Linked DNA regions of Homo sapiens: all the other regions are linked to region 4. Evidence: promoter capture Hi-C in 16 types of primary human blood cells and fetal thymus (Javierre and others, 2016). All regions are on one chromosome and are shown on one strand. The core of a region is centred on a gene start or on the middle of the fragment in contact, and the rest is flanking DNA. Distances in the headings are between cores, read along the strand shown. Region 1 overlaps SETDB1 (SET domain bifurcated histone lysine methyltransferase 1). Region 2 overlaps MINDY1 (MINDY lysine 48 deubiquitinase 1). Region 3 overlaps SETDB1 (SET domain bifurcated histone lysine methyltransferase 1). Region 4 holds the start of CA14 (carbonic anhydrase 14). Region 5 overlaps ARNT (aryl hydrocarbon receptor nuclear translocator). Region 6 overlaps PIP5K1A (phosphatidylinositol-4-phosphate 5-kinase type 1 alpha). Region 7 holds the start of LOC105371438 (a long non-coding RNA gene).

Evidence for each region. The method cuts DNA at HindIII sites, captures the fragments that hold promoters and counts their contacts. A CHiCAGO score of 5 or more calls a contact.
Region 1: a contact is called between a fragment that was not itself captured here and the fragment with the promoter of CA14 in region 4, in 1 of 17 cell types (fetal thymus). The highest score is 6.3, in fetal thymus.
Region 2: a contact is called between a fragment that was not itself captured here and the fragment with the promoter of CA14 in region 4, in 9 of 17 cell types (fetal thymus, total CD8 T cells, total B cells and 6 more). The highest score is 11.9, in fetal thymus.
Region 3: a fragment that was not itself captured here is called in contact with the fragment with the promoter of CA14 in region 4 in 1 of 17 cell types (naive CD8 T cells); the score reaches 5.3 in naive CD8 T cells.
Region 5: a contact is called between a fragment that was not itself captured here and the fragment with the promoter of CA14 in region 4, in 1 of 17 cell types (erythroblasts). The highest score is 5.7, in erythroblasts.
Region 6: a fragment that was not itself captured here is called in contact with the fragment with the promoter of CA14 in region 4 in 1 of 17 cell types (neutrophils); the score reaches 5.6 in neutrophils.
Region 7: a contact is called between a fragment that was not itself captured here and the fragment with the promoter of CA14 in region 4, in 5 of 17 cell types (fetal thymus, endothelial precursors, naive CD8 T cells and 2 more). The highest score is 8.6, in fetal thymus.

Annotation. Positions count from the first base shown.
Region 1 is chr1:150,927,065-150,929,932 of GRCh38, reverse strand. It overlaps SETDB1 (SET domain bifurcated histone lysine methyltransferase 1), which reads right to left. Exons shown (of 22, transcript NM_001366418.1): 2 at 1,959-2,229. The coding sequence starts at 2,218. Among named protein-coding and RNA genes, the nearest start is that of SETDB1, 2.1 kb to the right of the region's middle. The HindIII fragment of the contact is 3,618 bases long and covers 1-2,868 here.
Region 2 is chr1:150,998,890-151,001,797 of GRCh38, reverse strand. It overlaps MINDY1 (MINDY lysine 48 deubiquitinase 1), which reads left to right. Exons shown (of 10, transcript NM_001376665.1): 3 at 16-73; 4 at 484-548; 5 at 1,183-1,341; 6 at 1,834-1,936; 7 at 2,287-2,429. Among named protein-coding and RNA genes, the nearest start is that of MINDY1, 6.6 kb to the left of the region's middle. The HindIII fragment of the contact is 1,422 bases long and covers 622-2,043 here.
Region 3 is chr1:150,948,079-150,950,785 of GRCh38, reverse strand. It overlaps SETDB1 (SET domain bifurcated histone lysine methyltransferase 1), which reads right to left. Exons shown (of 22, transcript NM_001366418.1): 11 at 1,508-1,664; 12 at 1,261-1,419; 13 at 1-328. Among named protein-coding and RNA genes, the nearest start is that of SETDB1, 23 kb to the right of the region's middle. RefSeq lists a cis regulatory region at 750 and an enhancer at 678-822. The HindIII fragment of the contact is 252 bases long and covers 1,167-1,418 here.
Region 4 is chr1:150,256,140-150,259,243 of GRCh38, reverse strand. It overlaps CA14 (carbonic anhydrase 14), which reads right to left and starts at 1,470. Exons shown (of 11, transcript NM_012113.3): 1 at 1,061-1,470. The coding sequence starts at 1,115. RefSeq lists an enhancer at 2,586-3,104. The HindIII fragment of the contact is 8,593 bases long and covers 1-3,104 here.
Region 5 is chr1:150,830,472-150,833,504 of GRCh38, reverse strand. It overlaps ARNT (aryl hydrocarbon receptor nuclear translocator), which reads left to right. Exons shown (of 22, transcript NM_001668.4): 9 at 1,106-1,171; 10 at 1,602-1,687. Among named protein-coding and RNA genes, the nearest start is that of CTSK, 24 kb to the right of the region's middle. The HindIII fragment of the contact is 1,247 bases long and covers 871-2,117 here.
Region 6 is chr1:151,241,883-151,244,620 of GRCh38, reverse strand. PIP5K1A (phosphatidylinositol-4-phosphate 5-kinase type 1 alpha) reads right to left here. Exons shown (of 16, transcript NM_001135638.2): 13 at 2,352-2,498; 14 at 2,054-2,183. Among named protein-coding and RNA genes, the nearest start is that of PSMD4, 11 kb to the left of the region's middle. The HindIII fragment of the contact is 1,047 bases long and covers 742-1,788 here.
Region 7 is chr1:150,979,216-150,981,915 of GRCh38, reverse strand. It overlaps LOC105371438 (a long non-coding RNA gene), which reads left to right and starts at 411. Exons shown (of 3, transcript XR_922135.3): 1 at 411-495; 2 at 603-712; 3 at 1,830-1,958. It also overlaps a transcript of ANXA9 not described here. The HindIII fragment of the contact is 1,084 bases long and covers 824-1,907 here.

The sequences.
Region 1 (2,868 bases), core at 1-2,500, 670 kb before region 4:
CAGTAGAGGAATTAAGAGATATAGAATCCATTACGATGTATATATATTTAAGTATAGACAGTCCTCAATTTAAATGGGCCACATTCCAAAGTGTCTCTGTTTAGAATTTAGAATGCTTTTTCTATAGAAAAATGTTTTAAATAGTGGTTTAGTTTCCAGACTAGTTCCTCAAAAATCCAAAGTAAGCCCAAAGTACAGTACTTTCACCCTTACCTCATTATTTACCTTGCTGTTATCTGAAAATGTATCCTGGCTGGCAGTGGTGGCTCACACCTGCAATCCCAGCAATTTGGGAGGCTGAGGCAGGTAGATCACTTGAGGTCAGGAATTTGACCTCCCCAGCCTGGCCGACATGGTAAAACTCCATCTCTACTAAAAATACAAAAATTAGCCGGGTGTGGTGGCACACGCTTGTCGTCCCAGCTACTCCGGAGGCTGAGACAGGAGAGCTGCTTGAACTCGGGAGGCGGAGGCTGCAGTGAGCCGAGATCACGTCACTGTACTCCAGCCTGGGTGAGACAGAGCAAGTCTCTGTCTAAAAAAAAAATAAAATAAAATAAAAATAAAATAAAAAAATGCTCATTATCAGTGGCCATCAGAGAAATGCAAATCAAAACCACCATGAGATACCGTCTCACACCAGTTAGAATGGCGATCATTAAAAAGTCAGGAAACAACAGGTGCTGGAGAGGATGTAGAGAAACAGGAACACTTTTACACTGTTGGTGGGACTGTAAACTTGTTCAACCATTGTGGAAGACAGTGTGGCGATTCCTCAAGGATCTAGAACTAGAAATACCATTTGACCCAGCAATCCCATTACTGGGTATATACCCAAAGGATTATAAATCATGCTGCTATAAAGACACATGCACACGTATGTTTATTGCGGCACTATCCACAATAGCAAAGACTTTAAACCAACCCAAATGTCCATCAATGATAGACTGGATTAAGAAATGTGGCACATATACACCATGGAATACTATGCAGCCATAAAAAAGGATGAGTTCATGTCCTTTGTAGGCACATGGATGAAGCTGGAAACCATCATTCTGAGCAAACTATAGCAAGGACAGAAAACCAAACACCGCACGTTCTCATTCATAGGTGGGAATTGAACAATGAGAACACCTGGACACAGGATGGGGAACGTCACATACTGGGGCCTGTCGTGGGGTGGGGGGAAGGGGGAGGGATAGTATTAGGAGATATACCTAATGTAAGTGACACCAACATGGCACATGTATACATATGTAATAAACCTGCACGTTGTGCACATATACCCTAGAACTTAAAGTATAATAAATTTAAAAACAATGTATTCTAAGTGACAACTAGAGCACCAGAAACAAATCTTTTGGGGGTATGGGAACTTACTAATGCTTCAGAGTTACGTAAGACAGAAATTCTTTACAATCCTCACTCCCTGGATGATCTTACTAGGGAAATGAAGCAATTGTTCTAAGATAGAGCACAGGAGGAAGAAGGGGAAAGGACTTAAGACTTGGACTCCCTTACTGCTGATCATGTATTAGCTGCTGACAGATGAAAATTATATTTACGGCTGATTGTAAGGTCAGATTTTTGACCATAAACTTTGAGGAAGAGTAAGGTTCTAAACATCTGTACTTCATAAAGTATAAAATGTTTGGTACACAGCCTGGCCAACATGGTGAAACCCTGTCTCTACTAAAAATATAAAAAATTAGCTGGGTGTGGTGGCGGATGCCTATAATTCCAGCTACTCGGGAGGGGGAGGTGGGAGAATCACTTGAACCCGAGAGGTGGAGGTTGCAGTGAGCCAGGATCACTCCACTGCACTCTAGCTTGGGTGACAGAGCGAGACTCCGTCTCAAAACATAAAATAAAATGCTTGGTTCAATGTCATGAACAATTATTCTCTAAAAACATCTCCCAATGGAGAGATTTCCTTCTATTTTCCATGGAGTTCTCACCTGGATGCATCATCAAAGAGTTGGTCAACGTGAGCCACCTCAGATTCTTTCTGTATTACCCATGTCTCTAACTCTGCTAGCTGCTTCTTGCGTTGCTGTACACAATCCATCTTCTCCAGTTCCTCATCGATGAAATGCCGAAGTTCCTCCATAGAGATACCCAGTTCCTCAACCACTGCCTGTTGCAGCTCTGCAATCTCTTCAGACTCCACTGTAGCTGTTGCTGCATCCAAACCAATGCACCCAGGAAGGGAAGACATGCTTTTGTCCTCTGCATGGAACAGAAAACAAATTAAATTGGAGTCCTTATAACTACAATCAATCAATAGAGAATTTCAGTTCCCTAATAAAACTAATTCCTACTCTGCTGCCTGTTATTCTATTCAAATATTCCATGTTCTCCCTCCCTATTCTCCAGAATCTGATGCTGAGATTTTTAAGAGTTCTTATCTTCTGCTGTACGCTAACACTCCTGAAAAAGATTTAAGAGTTTGAGACGGCATGGAGAACATTCATTAAGCAGTAGAGAGCTACTGAAAATAATGTTTTGGGCTGGCACAGTGGCTTACACCTGTAATCTCAGCACTTTTAGAGGCCGAGGCAGGAGGGTCGCTTGAGGGCAGGAGTTCAAGACCAGCCTGGGCAACATGGCAAGACTCGTCTTTACAAAAAAATACAAAAATTAGCCACGTGTGGTGGTGCACGCCTTTAGTTCCAGCTACTCAGGAGGCTGAAGTGGGAGGATCGCTTGAGCCCAGGAGTAGCTGCTGTAGTGAGCTATGTTCGCGCCATGCATTCCAGCTTGGGTGACAAAGTGAGACCCTGTCTCAAAACAAACCGAACTTTAAAAATAATCTTTTGGGATACTGAAGAGAACCAATCTATAAGATATTTTTGTGGTCTATATGTG
Region 2 (2,908 bases), core at 83-2,582, 740 kb before region 4:
CCCTTCTGCCTCCAGGTGAAGCTCCCCCCGCAGAAGGAAGTGATCACATCGGATGAGCTCATGGCCCATCTTGGTGAGTGACTGGGCGTTGAAGAGGAATTACCCAAGGGGCTCCAGAGCTATCCACTCAGCCAGAAATCCAGACTATTCAGGGATCTCCATTTGGGGGTTCTGATACAGCAGGGAGGGTAAGGGTCTATGGGGCTTCTCTGCAAGGCTGGAGAATGAAAAGCAAAGGCGTCGGGAGTCCTGGGTTGTAACACCAATTCTGCCCTTAGCTTTTGTATCTGACCCTGGGTGGGCCGTTCACCTTTATGAGGCTGTCGCCTCCTCTGAGAAATGAAGAGTCTGGATTAGACTCTAAGTATTTTCCAGCTCTGAAAATCTGTGTTCTGTGACATTACCCGCATTCTCCAGGAGAAGAGGAAACTTAGCTTTTGGGATGATTGGTGGGGTAAGCTGATAAGGGGCCCTGTCTTGTAGGAAACTGCCTCCTGTCCATCAAGCCCCAGGAGAAGTCAGAGGGACTTCAGCTTAATTTTCAGCAGGTGAGGCAAAAGGTCTGCAGGCATAGGGGTTTGCAGGTTTGTAAGGGGACATCTTGTAATACTAAGATAAGCTTTTGTTGCTTCTTCAGAGGTTTCCTTGAACCATGATTTCATTCTGCAGGAGTCAGAGGAGAGTTTATCTTTGTCCTAGAAAATATGTTCATTGGCCGGGTGCTCACACCTGTAATCCCAGCACTTTGAGATGCCAAAGCGGGAGGATCACTTGAGGCCAGGAGTTCGAGGCCAGCCTGGGCAACATAATAATACCCCTGTCTCTAAAAAAAACCATTTTTTTTTTCAAGAATTAGCCAGGTATGGCGGTGCGTGCCTGTAGTCCCAGCTACTCAGGAGGCTGAGGTGGGAGGGTCACTTGAAACCAAGAGTTTGAGGCTGCAGTGAGCTAGGATCACACCACTGCACTCCAGCCTGGATGAAAGAATTAGACTTAGACTCTCAAAGAAAAACAATGTTCATTTATATAAGATAGAGAAGGGTTGAGGCAAGGGAGAAATGGAGTGGCTTGTAAGAGAATCAGGGAAGAAGAGCAGCAAGGTTAATTTTTAATTTCTGCAGGTGGGAGTGGAGTGGTGGGAGAGAAGGCTAGAATCTCCATCATTTTTTTTTCTACCCCCAGAATGTGGATGATGCAATGACAGTGCTGCCTAAACTGGCCACAGGTCTGGATGTCAATGTGCGATTCACAGGCGTCTCTGATTTTGAGTATACACCCGAGTGCAGTGTCTTTGACCTGCTAGGCATACCTCTGTACCATGGCTGGCTTGTTGATCCACAGGTGAGGGTGGGAGGGCCCACTGGGACCTTATCCAGCTCAAGCTGACATGAGAGAGGCAAATTTTTGTCGGGTAGAGGTTAGGGAGTTAGGGGTTAGATTGGCTTGGGAGGGAAATAGTGTTTAGAGACTGGACCCAGTACAGAATTCCTTGAATTTTAATCTATTTTGGGGGTAACATGCAAATACAAGCAAACTACATGCAAATAGGTCAGTTCTTTAGACATCAAAAATTCAGGAAGCAGATGGGTTTGGTGGCACATGCCTGTATTCCCAGCTACTTGGGAGGAGTTCGAGGCCAGTCTGGGCAACATAGCAACCCTATGATGAATGGTTCCTGAAATTTTTTTCTTTTTTGAGAGACCAAAAAAAAAAAGTGTTTAGGAACCATTCATCACAGGGTTGTAGTCCTTGTGAGCTTTGTTCATTTCCTTCCTTAAAAAAGAAAAAAAAATCCCAATTTTTTTGGTATCCCACATCCCACTACCCAAGCAGAGTCCTGAGGCTGTGCGTGCAGTTGGGAAACTGAGTTACAACCAGCTGGTGGAGAGGATCATCACCTGCAAACACTCCAGTGACACCAACCTCGTGACAGAAGGTGACATTCCTCCCCTTCTCATGGATAGTATGTGGAGGGAATGACAGCTACTTAGGCTTATTTTTTATTGGGTGTCATCTCCTACCACATCCCACTAGATATAAGCTTCACAAGAAGGAGCTTGGGGAATTTCTGTTTAGTTCATTGAGGTATCCCCAGTGCCTGGCACAAGGTAGCTGCTCTATTATAAGTATTTGTTAAGTGAATGAATACAGCCAGGTTTCAAGAAAGGGACGTCAGAAGGTGGGACTGACCCCCCGGGGCTTTTGACAGGGGCTCTCTGGATGGTCCTTCCTGTTGTGGACCTTGAATTTAAGCCAAGTTTCCCCCGACTCGTCCCTTTCTGGCAGGCCTGATTGCAGAGCAGTTCCTGGAGACCACCGCGGCCCAGCTGACCTACCACGGACTGTGTGAGCTGACAGCAGCTGCTAAGGAGGGTGAACTTAGCGTCTTTTTCCGAAACAACCACTTTAGCACCATGACTAAGCATAAGGTAATGCGAGTTTGGGGGTGGCGTGCTGCGGTGCTGTCATTTCCTGGTGCCTTTTTCTCGTGGGTCCAGCTGGGATCAGCTAGATTAAGCCGTGGTAGCAAGTGACCCCTCAAATCCCTGTGGTTTACCACAACAAAGGTTCATTTCCCGCTCCTGGTGCGTGTCCACTGTGGACTGGCTACGGTTCTGTCCCACACCATCTTCACTCTGGGACCCAGCTGACAAAAGATCCTTTATCTGGAATATATGTGGGAACAGAGAGAGAGAGGGGCACTGTGCACTCATGCTTAGAGCTTCTGTTTGGAAATGACACATGTCATTTCTGCTCACATCTTCTGGCCAGAGCAAGCCATAAGGGATAAGCCTGCCGTCGATGGGACAGGAAAGTATGATCCTCCCCTAGGAGGGGGCAGTGGAATTTTTAAACAATGCTGGTCTTCAAAAGTTAGAAACTGCCAAAGCTCTCTAGGATTTGAGCA
Region 3 (2,707 bases), core at 43-2,542, 690 kb before region 4:
CCGAAGGCAGAGACCACAAGGTGTCTTATAGATAACATGAAAGCCCATCTTGCGGTTAACTCGACGCCGGGCTGTCATCCGCCGGAAGTCATATAGTAACGGGACCAGCAGAGGGTTCTTGCCCCGGTACTGCTCATTCCTCATAGGTCTGACTCGAGACAGACAGGTATAGCTGCAGACATGAGGTAAGTAGAAAAGCTTCTCCATGGGAGCACGGTAGGAGGGCTCTGCTGGGGCCCGCTCCAGCATGCCATGGAAGACTGGGGGTGCTGGAGGGGCCGGGAGTGCTGAGGGTGCTGGGGCAGAGGCTGTGGAGCCTAAAGGTGATCTGCAAATGAGATGCAAGTGATCAGATCGGAAGGCAACAGGACCTCTGTTTTATAATTAACCCTCCAGGTAGCTAAGCCATTTCTCTCATCTTTCAAACAGCTGTGCTCCTGAAGCTAAAGATGATTCAAGAAAGATCTTCCCTTGCCCTACCAAACCTGGACAATGAAACTCCCTGGTTACTCTTCACTGACTGATAACATCTCTATTTCTCTTTTTTTTTTTGAGACAAGTTTCGCTCTTTTTGCCTAGGCTGGAGTACAATGGCACGATCTTGGCTCACCACAACCTCTGCCTCCTGGGTTCAAGCGATTCTCCTGCCTCAGCGTCCTGAGTAGCTGGGATTACAGGCATGCGCCACCACGCCTGGCTAATTTTGTATTTTTTAGTAGAGACAGGGTTTCTCCATGTTGGCCAGGCTGGTCTCGAACTCCCGACCTCAGGTGATCCACCCGCCTCGGCCTCCCAAAGTGCTGGGATTACAGGCATGAGCCACCGCGCCCGGCCTAACATCTCTATTTCAACAGTATACCTTTTCCTAAAATGTATTTGCCTGTGAATTATGGAAGTAGAATCCAGTCTTCTACCAATGTTTTTTTGGTCTGCTGCGTGTTCTAAAAATGTCCTTACTAACTCCAAGGAAAGAGGCTGTGGTGTTTCCTTTCTATTTTAGCAATGATGGCACCATGTTCAACAAGAAGTTTTAACAAATGGCTTTCAGATGATACCATATTTCCAAGCACCCAGCTTCCAATTCAATTATTCTTACTTTCTATTTCTTAGGAACTTCTATGGGTAAAGCTTCCTTTTCAAGTCCAAACTCCTCACTATCATAAGCTTAAACTAAGCCCTTCGCTTACAGCCAAGGAACCTTCCCCTACACAGTGACCACTCATTGCTATCCTGCCTACAGAGAGCCTCAGATTTTCTCACCTATATGTCTGGTTGATCCCAGGTTTCCCACCAGAGACATTTTCACTGAGTGCAGGAGATGTAGGGGAGGAATGACCAGAGCCCACAGATCCTGGTCGAAAGGACGTGCTCTTTTTGGCTACCTGCTTCCGTGACTGGGCAAGCTGGCTTTCCAAGCTTCTAGGAGATTAGAGAAGAGGGCATATAGTAAGGGATGTGGAAAATATAATATGAAAGAAACTGAAGAAAAAGAAAGAATAACACTCACTCACTGTCACCTGCTTGGGGGGATAGAGGTGGAGCAGGTGGGAAAGGTGGGGCAGGTGGAGCTGTAGGCTGTGGGGGTTCCACTGGCTTGAACTGGGTTCCAGTACCGGTCAGATCCTGTGTGTACTGGACAACAGGGCCTTTGCTCCTCACAGCACCTATAGGAAAAAGGAAATTGAGCACTGAGAAGATGATAGCTATGACGCTTGTATTCAGTCACACATCTGATCCTTAACTTATACAATATAAAAAGGAAGCAATGGCTGGGCGCAGTGGCTCTTGCCTGTAATCCCAGCAGTTTGGGAGGCCGAAGTGGGCAGGTTGCTTGAGGTCATGAGTTTGAGACCAGCCTGGCCAACATGGTGAAACCCCGTCTCTACTAAAAATACAAAAATTAGATGGGCATGGTGGTGCACATCTGTAATTCCAGCTGCTCGGAAGGCGCAGGACAATCACTTGAAACCAGGAGGTGGAGGTTGCAGTGAGCCGAGATCACATCACTGTACTCCAGCCTGGGCAACAGAACAAGACTTCGTCTCAAAAAAAAAAAGCAGCAATGGACACATTTTGAGTAAGTGCTTAGACTCTCAGTTCCCATTATTGACTGGCATGGACGCTGGCATACATTGTTTTTTGACTTAGATAATACTTTTTCTTTTATTAAAGTGAAAGCAAGTTTATTCACAAAGTAAAGGAATAAAAGAATAACGGCCAGGCGCGGTGGCTCATGCCTTTAATCCCAGCACTTTGGGAGGCTGAGGCGGGCAGATCACCTGAGGTCAGGAGTTCAAGACCAGCCTGGCCAACATGGAGAAATCCCGTCTCTACTAACAATACAAAAATTAGCCTGGCATGGTAGCAGTCGCCTGTAACCCCAGTTACTCGGAAGGCTGAGGCAGGAGAATTGCTGGAACCCGGGAGGCGGAGGTTGCAGTGAGCTGAGATGGTGCCACTGCACTCCAGCCTGGGCAAAAGAACCAGACTCCATCTCAAAAAAAAAAAAAAAAAATTGCTACTCTGTCGGCAGAGTAGCCTCTTTTTTTTCTTTTTATAGACAGTGTTCCACTTTGTTACTCAGGCTGAAGTGCAGCGGTGTGACCTTAGCTCATTGTAACCTTGAAATCCTGGGCTTCAAGCAATCCTCCTGCCTCAGCCTCCAGAGTAGCTAAGGCTACAGGTGCACACCACCACACTCAGCATT
Region 4 (3,104 bases), core at 221-2,720:
TTCCTTCCTCTCTCTGTCTCTTATTCCCTTAAATTCCTCAAACTTGTGAGATGTCCTGCTCTTATCCTTGACCTATTCTGCTAGCCCAAGGGAGAGCTGGAGGCAGCCTCTCATTTTACCATATCTGTGGGACCCCCCAACAACTCAAACTCCCTGGTCTGTAAAGGTGCCTGTCCACTCTGGTCAGAGCCTCAACACACTTATTCTGTCTCTTCCTCCTCTTTCCCTCTTTTTTTCTTTCTCCTCAGATGAGATTTGTGACTCTCCATTTGGCTGCCTGCCTGCCCCCATCCTCTCTGCATTTGCCTTCTGCTCTCTGGACACCCACCTCACCCTGCTCTTTCCACAAACCTCAGTTACACACCTAGTATGTGCTGGACACTGTGCTAGGCACAGGAAACACAAAAATGAGGTCTAGGAGTTCCTGGGGACACTCCTGGAGCGCTTCAGCCTGTTCTCCCAAGAATCCCTCCTCATCTCCTGGGAGCTCCTGAAAGTCCTTTGTAAACTGTAAAATGTCAAACAAATGTTGACTCTTACTGCCACTTTCAGAGGATAACTGGGGAGTTAGTCGCTCCACAGAATGAAGAGGGAATCTTGGCCAAAAGGGGATGAATTGGAGATCAGGGTCTGAGTTGGGCAGGAAGTATTCTTCCCCCTACCCCCATCTATCCATCTTTTTACTCCAGGCCTCTTTGACTCCCTATTTGGAGGAGTTTGTAAATAAAGAAGTCCAGGAGTCCTGCCTGGGACCAGGGCAGTGGGGGAAAGAGCTCTGGAGAAAATCTGTAGCCTGCAAAGAGATTCCAGCACTTGCATGTGTACACACTCTGCCTGCCTGCCGCTAGTTCTCCCCGACCTCCAATAACAACAAGGCTGGAGAGACAAAAGGTAAAGAAGGGAAGTGGTCTCCTCCACACCCCACTCTTTTTTCCTCATCTCTGAGCCTATTATTCCAGCCTCTAGGCTTCCTTTCACACCTCTCCTCCCCCCATTAAGCACACCTGGCGACATGTGAACATCAGCACAAATCCACACACAGACATTTAGTTGTACCTACCCCCATCTGCAGCCAGGATCCAAATCACCTCCAGCAGGAGGGCGGAGAACAACATAGTGTCCCAGGAAGGGGTGCAGGGGACTGGGAATTTGAGGACTAGAGGACTAGGACAGGCAGAGAGAGAGGGAGGGAGGAGTGAGAGAGAGAGAGAGAGAGCGAGCGAGCTCCTGGCGTGAGTGTATTTATCTCTGCTTCTCTTGCTGTCTCTGTCTCTGTGGGCTTCCAGGGGATTCGGTGTTCAGTAGGGTATCATGGGTTTCTGGATCCCCAGGACAAATCTCTTGCTGCCTCTTTGCCCTCTCTCTTTATCTCCCTCTGCAGTCTCCACTCCACTAGCTGGCCAGCGACTTTACAACTGCCTCCTGCTTTTAAGGTGGCTCTGAACTGGTGTATGTGGGGACGGGGGTGCTGCCTGGGCTGCTGGTGAACAGCTCCTTAAATAGCCAATTAGGCATGCAGGATGGCCCCACTCGGAGCTGGAGCGCGGCAAGTTTCACTGGAGCCCTGGCCCTGGCTCAGGAGCCCAGCTGGGGTGAGCTCTTCCTTCCTCTGCTAGTCACACAGATGCTGTTTAGATGGGTGTTCCCTGGAGCAGGCAGGGTCAAGGAAGGGGCTTTGGGGTTCAACTCAGCCCCCTCAAAAGGACACTGTATTTTCATCCCCCCGCCTGATTTCTCCTCTGAGGAGCAGCTCCCTGGGTGGTATGCGGCAGATGGTGGGGGTACCTGTTCCCAATTCCCTGCATAATCTGAGCTGCCCTGGAATGGGAAGAGTCCAGAATTAGGAGATATATAACAAGAAGGAATTAGGGACTCAGGGTGCAGGGGAGGGGTGGAGGAAGTCAATAACTAAAACCTGAGTTGTGTCCTAAGTTCTAAGGAAGAGAAGTGAGGCAAGGAGAACTCATCTGGAGCAATCTCTTCTGTGCCTGCCACCACCCCCTTCCCACGGTGAGGCCTGGGTCCACGTGCCTGTGTGGCCTGGGGTGGGGGGAGTGCGGGGAGGGAGCGTTGTTTGCTGGATAAAGCCCATTTGTATGCCCAGTGGGGGAGGGGTGTAGCAGCACCATGGAGAGACAGCGGCTGTAACTGCCAGACCCAGCCACCTCCCTCTCCAGGGAGCCCAGATCTAGGGCGGCTTTTGTCACTGAAGAGGACACTGACCTCCGGCAGAGAGGCCAGGGCAGGAGGAAAGGAGAGACTTTAGGAACAATCACTACCACCATCAGAAAAAGGTGGTTTCCAGAGAAAGAGAGGGGAGGGTCTGGAGAGACCATGTGATCCAGATGGAAGAGGGGCTCAGGGTCTTCCTTCCAGCCCAACAAAGGGCTGAGGCAGGACATGTGGCACTGAATGAAACCTGCCACCAAGGAGCTGCGTCCGTGGAGCATGGAGGCTGCACGTCTCAGGAATGTGAACTGATGTTTGCTCCCCACGGGACTGGAAATCCCGATTGGAATGTACATCCTAAATCCCTCGTTAGAGAATGTGAAACCCACAGATACTTTCAAGCCAGACATTGAAACCTCTTTCTCCTCCATGCTCTTCACCAGAGGCACCAGCCAGGAGGATGCACCCATCTGAAGCTCCCTCTGCCCTCCTTGCTCCTGCCGAGTAGCAATAAATAGCCAAACAAAGGGAGCAGAAGCTAAATAAGGGAGCAGGATAAAAGCCAAATGAACAGAATAATGCATGTGCTGGATCATCAGCTCCTGCAGAGACAGGAGCTCACTGTGCCTTTCTATCCCCTGTGATTGATCTGCAAAGCCAAGCCATTTTGCTGATGTCATTTCCCTTTTTCTTCTCCTATCACCCTCTGAGTTATTTGTCCCCTTCAGGAAAGTTTTATGTTTTGAGGTTCCCCAAAGCCCCATCCATCCCATCTAAGAAGAGTAAAAGACTTGAAGTATAAATTAGATTTCCCGGGAATCAGGGTACTTAACACAAAGAAACAAAAAAAGAAAGCAGAGACATCTTGGTATGAAAGAAGAGATTTAGTAGGAAAGAAGAGGTCTGAACAGAATGACCTCTGCCGGAACAGAGTT
Region 5 (3,033 bases), core at 245-2,744, 570 kb before region 4:
TATTTATTTTTTTGAGACAGAGTCTTGCTCTGTTGCCCAGGCTGGAGTGCAGTGGCATGATCTTGGGTCATTACAACCTCTACCTCCTGGGTTCAAGCGATTCTCATGCCTCAGTTTCCTGAGTAGCTGGATTGCCACCACAGCTGGCTAATTTTTGTATTTTTAGTAAAACAGTGTTTCACCATGTTGGCCAGGCTGGCCTCAAACTCTTGACCTCAAGTGATTCGCCTGCGTCAGCCTCCCAAAGTGCTGAGATTACAGGCCTGAACCACTGCACCCAGCGTGTAATTTAGAGTAGCTTCTAGACCCAGACTGCTGGATTTTGTTTTAATCCATATTCTATGGATTTGAATTCTAGCTTTGATGCTATCTTCTGAAACCTTGGATGATTACATGACTACATTGTGCTTTGATTTCATCATCTCACATTGGCGATAATGTTAATACTGACTTTATAAAGTTGTTATGAAGATTAGATGAATTAATATATGTAAAGATATTTAGAACAGAGCATGACACATATTAACCCTATGTAAGTTTTATTTTTGTTTTAAAGGATAGGGAGAGGGAAAGTAGCATTGGCAGGAGTATCCCAATATGTGGACATGGCTAATGCAAAGACATAGGCAAGAGCAAGATAATAATGAACTGTAGCAATTACATTAAGTTGTGGTTAATGTAGAGCAGGAGTAAGCAAACCACAGCCCTTTATTTGTAAATAAAGTTTTATTGGAACATAGCCATGCCCATATTTTTACATATTATCTATGGCTATTTTCATGCTATAATGCTAGAGTTGACTAGTTGCAACAGACTTTCTGGCCCGCAAAGCTGAAAATATGTACTATCTGGTCCTTTACAGAAAAAGCTTGCCAACTCTTGATGTTGAGAATGTTTGCATATGAAGAACATATGGAACATTTTGACTTCAAATTCTAAAAGTTTTAGAAATACTAAACTTGACCTATCTTTATCCTTCATTATTAGTAGCATTACCAATTTTCTATGTCTGGTTGTATCCAGAGCATGTTATTCTGCTATTACTGTGGAAAGTTCTTTGATAGGGCAGTCTGATTGCTTTTAATCTCTTTATTCCTTGAAACAGGTGTGGCAGTAGCTCTGTGGACCCAGTTTCTGTGAATAGGCTGAGCTTTGTGAGGAACAGATGCAGGTGAGATCCTAAGTGGTGAAAACCAAAGGGATGGCCAAATACCTGCAGAGATCATCACATTTTTACCTGTCTTACTGTAGTCGTTCCTTCAGCAGCTCTCACTTGCATCCCTTACCTCCCACTTAACATCCCTTACCTCCCACTTACTTTTTTTCTGGCAATATTTTCCTAAACTTCTAAAACTTCTCTTGAAAATCCTGTTTAAGGAAGTCGCTATGCTATTTTACCTACTTTCCTCCTACTGCATACCTTTTGGTTACTTTACTTTGGCAAGGGTAAAAATGTGGCGGTCATTTTTGGGTGGGAAAGATGATTATCCTGTTTTCTAAACTCCTAAGAGCATAAACTTAAAAGTACTAAGGCAGCATTGCCCTTTGAGTTTTACGGGTAGATTTTTTTTTTTTTTTTCAAACTCCTGTAACTCTTCTAGGAATGGACTTGGCTCTGTAAAGGATGGGGAACCTCACTTCGTGGTGGTCCACTGCACAGGCTACATCAAGGCCTGGCCCCCAGCAGGTAAGAAAGTGAAATAGTAAATATTTCCCCTTGGTACAGTTGGTTCCTCACAGAGTCCATGAAAGCTAATATTTATTATATACCTGGTATATGAAATGTACTTTTGTGTAAGATGAAAGAAAATAGGAAAAGAAAATGTACAATCCTTCCCTTCCATTATTGAGCTTTTATTCCAGTTGAGGAGATAGATAACTCAGGCTGGAAAATGATTCAGTATTGGCTGTGTCACAGAATGTGGTTTTTATGTGAACAAATTTATACTGAACATATGTATTCTAAGCATTTGTTGCAAAGAAACTTAGACATTGAATGCAGTTAATTTGAGAAAGATTTCTAAAGTAGGAACAAGACTTTGAGAGAAAAGGGGAAAATGCCTTTATTGTAATAACTTATCAAGAGGATATTCTCTGCAAAGACTTTAAATCAAGCTTTGAGCAGATTAGCTTTACCAGAACTTGAGGTCAAACAAGGAATGTGAGAAAGGTGATTGGGTTGCAGGATCAAAGTTTTAAGTTGGCTTGTCAGAGTTTCCAAATCTTAGCAACTTTATTACTTCCCTGCTGCCTGGGTATTATTGGAAAGTAGGGGTTTTGGGGAGACAGAAACTAAGAGAAAAGAGAAGCAAGGTGATGTGTTTTGGAAAAAGGTTAAACTTTGGATGTGGAGAAACCTGGATGTGATTCCTGTCATTGTTACTTATTAGTGGCATCACCTAGGGTAAGTTGCTTGACCTTTATAAAGCTCAGTTTTCTCATCTGTAATTCAGAGTTAGTACATCCTGTATAGGGTTTTTGTGAGGATTAGATTTAATGTAAGGAAAGCATCCAGCCCAGTGCCTGGCATATGGCAGGTAACCCAATAAAAGTAATTAATGTAATTTAAAAAAATTTAACTGAAGTAGTAATGACATTTGAACTACTTAGTCTATATACTATATAAGCCACACAGTTAAAGTATGTGATCTTTCATACCTCTATGTAGCATCAAGGAATACTATTTTTCTGGATAAAAAGAGTATAACTATGCAAAAAACAGGGGAGAAATGCAGTCTTCTTCCCTTTCTGTGTAAAACATTGGTTTTTCTCTTTTCCAAGGGACATGAATAACTATTGATGGTTGGTATAACTTCATTTTGGGTTGCTTGCTAACTTTAAAAGTTACAGATTAGGCAAAGCATAAATTTTCTGCCTATAACATGGTCATAGAATGGATGTCTTCATATGTGCCATATTTGGCCAGCATAGTTTTTTAGAGTACTCTGGGTAGGACTTGTATTTTCCAGTTTACTATAATTAACATGGGTAAAATGTAGGAATTAATATATATGTAAATACTTAAAACAATGA
Region 6 (2,738 bases), core at 16-2,515, 990 kb before region 4:
CCAGTGGCGCGATTTCGGCTCACTGCAACCACTGCCTCCGGGGTTCGAGCGATCCTCCTGCCTCAGCCTCCTGAGTAACTTGGACTACAGGAACATACCACCACGCCTGGCTAATTTTTTTGTATTTTTGGTAGAGATGGGGTTTCGCCATGTTGCTCAGGCTGATCTTAAACTCCTAGGCTCAAGTAATCTGGCCGCCTCTACCTCTCACAAGTGTTGGGATTACAGGCGTGAGCCATCACGCCTGGCCCTCCATATACTTTAAATCATTCCTAGATTATTTATGATAACTAATACAATGTAAATGCTATGTAAATAGTTGTTATACTATATTGTTCAGGGAATAATGACAAGAAAAGTCTGTACATGTTAAGTACAGGCCTAACTGTACAGTACATATCAGCAACAACATAACATTTTCACGACTTTTTTTTTTTTTTTCAGTATTTTTTCGTTTCTTTCTTTTTTTTTTTCAAAGGGATGGGGTCTCGTTATATTGACCAGGCTGGTCTCAAACTGCCTCAAGCAATCCTCCCACCTCAGCCTCCCAAAGTGGTGGGATTACAGGCATGAGCCACCACACCAGGCTCTCAAGTATTTTCAGTCCACAGTTGGTTGAATCTGGGATGTGGAACCTGTGGATACGGAGGGCTGATTGTGCTATTCAGTCATACAAAAGGCTGTTCAGAAGATTATGTTTCACAGATCCTTTCAACCGAAAAACAGAGTCTGTAAGAAGCTTAGGTCTCATAAAGAAGATATTTATGAGTGTGGCTTTTGTCTAATGGAGTAAATCCCAAGGAGAATCACAGGAGGCCCACAAAATCTTCTGTATCAGTAGAAACACTGCCATCTTGGATCAAAAAGGACAGAAACAGTACAAAATAGAGACCACTAGTTCCCCTAAAATTCTACTGGAAAGAAGCAGCCTGAGAAAAGAACTCAGGTAAAAACACACTCTAGCTTTGATGAAAAAGGAAGACTCAGAAGACAAAACCAAGAGTCTAGAGGGTAGAGCCAAGAACCACGGAGAATTATTCTTCTGCTTTGAGGCCTGATAAAAGAAACTCCAACATTTCCTGGATTTTGGAACAGCAAATAAAATCAATGACTCCTTTTTGTGCCTCCCATTCTCCCCTTTTATGTACAGAAATGTGTATATTGGTTATCTAATGCCTGTCTCACCATTGTATGCTAGGTACATGGGGAAAGGATAACTTGTCTCTTTGGTTCCACAAGTTCACAGATTGAGAAGAACTGTACTTGAGGAGCTGTGCTTAAGGAACTATACCTGGGGGGCTCATCCAACCGGACCTAATTTAGGTAATAAAACTCTGGACTCTGAGCTAACGCTACAATGGGATGAGACCCTGGGAGGGGGTCAGTGTATTTTCGACATGGAGGTATGTAAATTACTGGAGACCAGAGAGCAGACTATGACAGGCAGTTTCTAAGATGGCTCACAATGATCCCTGCACCTCCTGGTATTCACACCCATGGGTAATTCCTTCCTCTTGAGTGTGGGCTGCATTTAGTGAACAGAATGTAGCACAAGTAGAATGTCAATTCTGAGATTAAGTTATAAGAGGCCATGGTTTCTGCATAGGCACATGCTCTCTTGTTCACTTGTCAGATAGCCCAGGTGCCATGTTCTGAGCTGTCCTATGGAGAAGTCCATGTAGCAAAGAACTGAGGGAAGCCCCCAGACAACAGCCAGCAAGGAACTAAGGCCCTCAGTTCAGCAACCCACAAGGAACAGAATCCTACCAGTAACCACATAAATAAGCTTAAAAGCAGATCTTCCTGTTTGAGCCTTCAGATGAGACCCCAGCCCTGGCCAACAGCTTAAATGCCACCTCATGAGAAATCTTGAGCCAGAGGACCCAGCTAAGCTGGGCCTGGATTCCTGACCCACAGAAAGTATGATATATGTTTGTTATTTTAAGCCACTAATCTTTGGGGTAATTTATTATGATGCAATCAAATTATAGAGGTTTCCAAGGACTTGAAAAGAGAGATAAGATTATATGGAGAAAGGGGCCAATAAACCAACCTTGTAGTTAGCATTTGCAAAGTCTCTCCAACTAGAGGTGAGAAACTGGGGTCAGGAATAGGCGAGCCCTCACTGATTTCCTCCAAAGGTGGAGTCTGAGGTAAAACATCAGGACGACCAAGGTGAACGCCTGGAAAAAAGATAGAGAAGATGGGGTACAGTAAATACAAGGAAAAATATGTAGCAGCTAGGCTTCCTGGATAGAAATGGGAGCAGAGGTCCTGGCCAGACAAGATAAAGGCTCAGAAGGAAGGGAGGGAGTACCCAATCACATGGGGACCCCAGCCCTAGCGCTGACCTGGCTCCACTTCTGCCTTTGTTGTCACTTGTGCCTTGTGTTCCCCAGAGACCGATGGCTGGTAAGTAATGCAGGAGTTGCCACTGGAGCCTGCTCGCCGAGAGAAAGATGAGCCAGACCGAAACTTTTTGGAAGGAGAAGGCTTCACTTCAAAAGGGAAAGAGAGAGCCTACTTAGCAACTACCTTAGCAACTATTACCAAGACATAGATACAAATAATTGCTAGTATCCCCAACACACACCCAAAGTTGGTCTGAAAAGTGAAAAGGCTAATGTCAACAAAGACAGGCCTATGAATTACTATTCAGAGAACAAGGTGTTAGCTCACTTCACTTTCCAAGAGGCATGAAAACCTAGAAGAAAGGAAACATATCCACACCTAACCCC
Region 7 (2,700 bases), core at 116-2,615, 720 kb before region 4:
GGCTGCAGGCTGATTTCAAGGCTGATAGGGAAAAACCTGTTGGGGCACATACCAGCAGGGCACCCCAGCCTGCACCCCAGAGGGGGTCCCAGCCCAGAAACTCCCTTGACTGCTGCCTTACTAGAGCCAGCTGACCTAGGTGGAGAGTGCCCAGGGATTGTGTATATCTGTGGAGAAGGAAGGGCACAAGTATTTGGGAGTGGAAGTTGATGAACAGAGTCAAGAGAGAAAAATGCAAAGGGTGTTACCTTCAGAGGGAAGCTCTATGCTCCCAAAAGGCAACAGGGAGATGGGGGAGGCTCCCTTGCCTGGTTTCTTAGATTGCTTCTGTTGCCTTTTGGCAGCCTGGGCCCTGTGGCTGTTTTAGCTGCAGGTGATGCAACCCCAGCAGCTGGACTTGAGGCTGTCTCTGCACAGAGCAGCAGGTGAACAGCCCTGTGGAGCCCCCGCCCCGCCATGCAGCAACTGCTCCAGCCTCACAGCTGGCTCCCTCAGGTCTAAACACAGCCTCTTTCCTGCCTCCCTGGAGAGCCTGGGTAGGGGCGGGGCACAGAAGCTACAGCCCTGCCTCCACTCACTCCTCTGCCTCTCTCCCAACTCAGGAAGGCCTTCACTGGCATTCCTACATCCCTGGAGGAGGGACCTGCAGTGGCTCCACCACACTGAGTAGACCATGCCGGAGGACACGCCATGAAAGGATATTTCTGTGGCGGTAATCACTGCTCCTCACTTTTCTCTCCTGTTAAAAGGAAAACATGCACCTGTGTCAGAACTGGAGAATGAGGGTTCAATATCCAGCTCTGCCACCTATGTTCTGTAAGCTTCGCTAGTCCTTTCAGCTCTCTAAATGGGAGGATTGAGAGAGACGGAGGCTGTGGGACATGCTGGGGCCTCCGAGGACAGGTTTCCTGGGATGATTAAATGAAGTAATGTGTCCACTAAAGAACTTATCCATGTAACCAAACACCACCTTGTCCCCAAAAACTATTGAACTCATAAAAATAAATAAATAAATAAATAAATAAATAAGGTAATGTGGCCAGGCACGGTGGCTCATGCCTGTAATCCCAGCACTTTGTGAGGCCGAGGCGGGTGGATCATGAGGCAGGAGATCGAGACCAGCCTTGGCTTACACAGTGAAACCCCGTCTCTACTAAAAATACAAAAAATTAGCCGGGCATGGCGGCGCATGCCTGTAATCCCAGCTACTCGGGAGGCTGAGGCAGGAGAATCACTTGAACCTGGGAGGCAGAGGTTGCAGTGAGCTGAGATGGCGCCACTGCACTCCACAGCCTGGGCGACAGAGTGAGACTCCGTCTCAAAAAAAAAAAAAAAAAAAAAAAGTAATCTGTGTAATTGCATGTGGCAGAGAAAAGTGCCCTGTAAAGTAGGGGTATTAGATTAAATAAATAAATATACAGGACATGCAGCTTAATCAGAATTTCACGTAAATGAGGAATCATTTGTTGGTACAAGTATGACCCAAATATTTCATTAAATATACTAACATTTTTTTTTTTGAGGCGGAGTCTCTCTCTGTTGCCCAGGCTGGAGTGCAGTGGCATTATGTTGGCTCACTGCAAGCTCCACCTCCCGGGTTCAAGCGATTCTCCTGCCTCCGCCTCCCGAGTAGCTGGGATTATAGGCGCCTGCCATCATGCCTGGCTAATTTTTTGTATTCTTAGTAGAGATAGGGTTTCACCATGTTGGCCAGGCTGGTCTCGAACTCCTGACCTCGTGATCCACCTGCCTTGGACTCCCAAAGTGCTGGGATTACAGGCGTGAGCCACCGCCTGTAATTATTATTTTTTGTTTATCTGAAATTATAGTTTAACAGTGTGTCCTGTATTTCACCTGACAACCCCAAAATGGAACTCAGTCTCAGCGTGGTGGCTAAAAGCAAAGCTTCTGGAGCCAGACTTCTCAGAGTCGGGATTCTGGTCTTCTGTGTGACCTTGGGCAACTATTCTGTGCTCAGTTTCCTCATCATCAACAGACAAGTAATAGTGTTTATGTTATAGGTTGTTGTGAGAATTAAATAACTACAGTGCATATAAAGCACTTAGAAGAGTTCTGGGCACAGCGCTGTTAAGTAGAAATGTCACAATGTTATCAAATATATAACGATAAGTATTGTTATATGGTAACTGTTACTGTTGTTATTACTTACCTCCTTAAGAATTCCGATCTTGGCTCGCTTCTGAAACTTTTCTGGCCAATCCCCAAAATGGCCACAAGAGGGCGTCAGCAGCCACTGAGAGTCTCGAGCCCCCTAGTGGCCCCTTGAGGTCTCTGGCTCCAGCCCCACATATTAAGGGGCTGTCTCAGCCCACTTGGGAAGTGCAGCCTCCTGAGGACGCCAGGTTCCTGGGTGGAATTGGTATGCAGGTAGCATCAGGGGAAGAGCCTCAGGTAGATACCTACTCAGGGGAGCCCCCGAGGCTGACCTCAGACACATGCAGGAGACTGGGTGACCGCAGTTAGGCTGGGTAAACACGGTACTGCAGCTCCGCAGCCGGGGTCCCCCTGGCCCTCGGCTTTCTGTACCCTTCAGAGTTTCTTCTGGCTACCTGCCCAGCAGATTTAGGGAGAACCGAAGGAAGCGTGAGGCCTCCTGTTTCCTCACGCCGAATCTCTCCAAGGGGCTCCTGGCCGGCATGCCAGGCTGAACTCTGAATTTGGAGAAGTCCAACAGAGTCT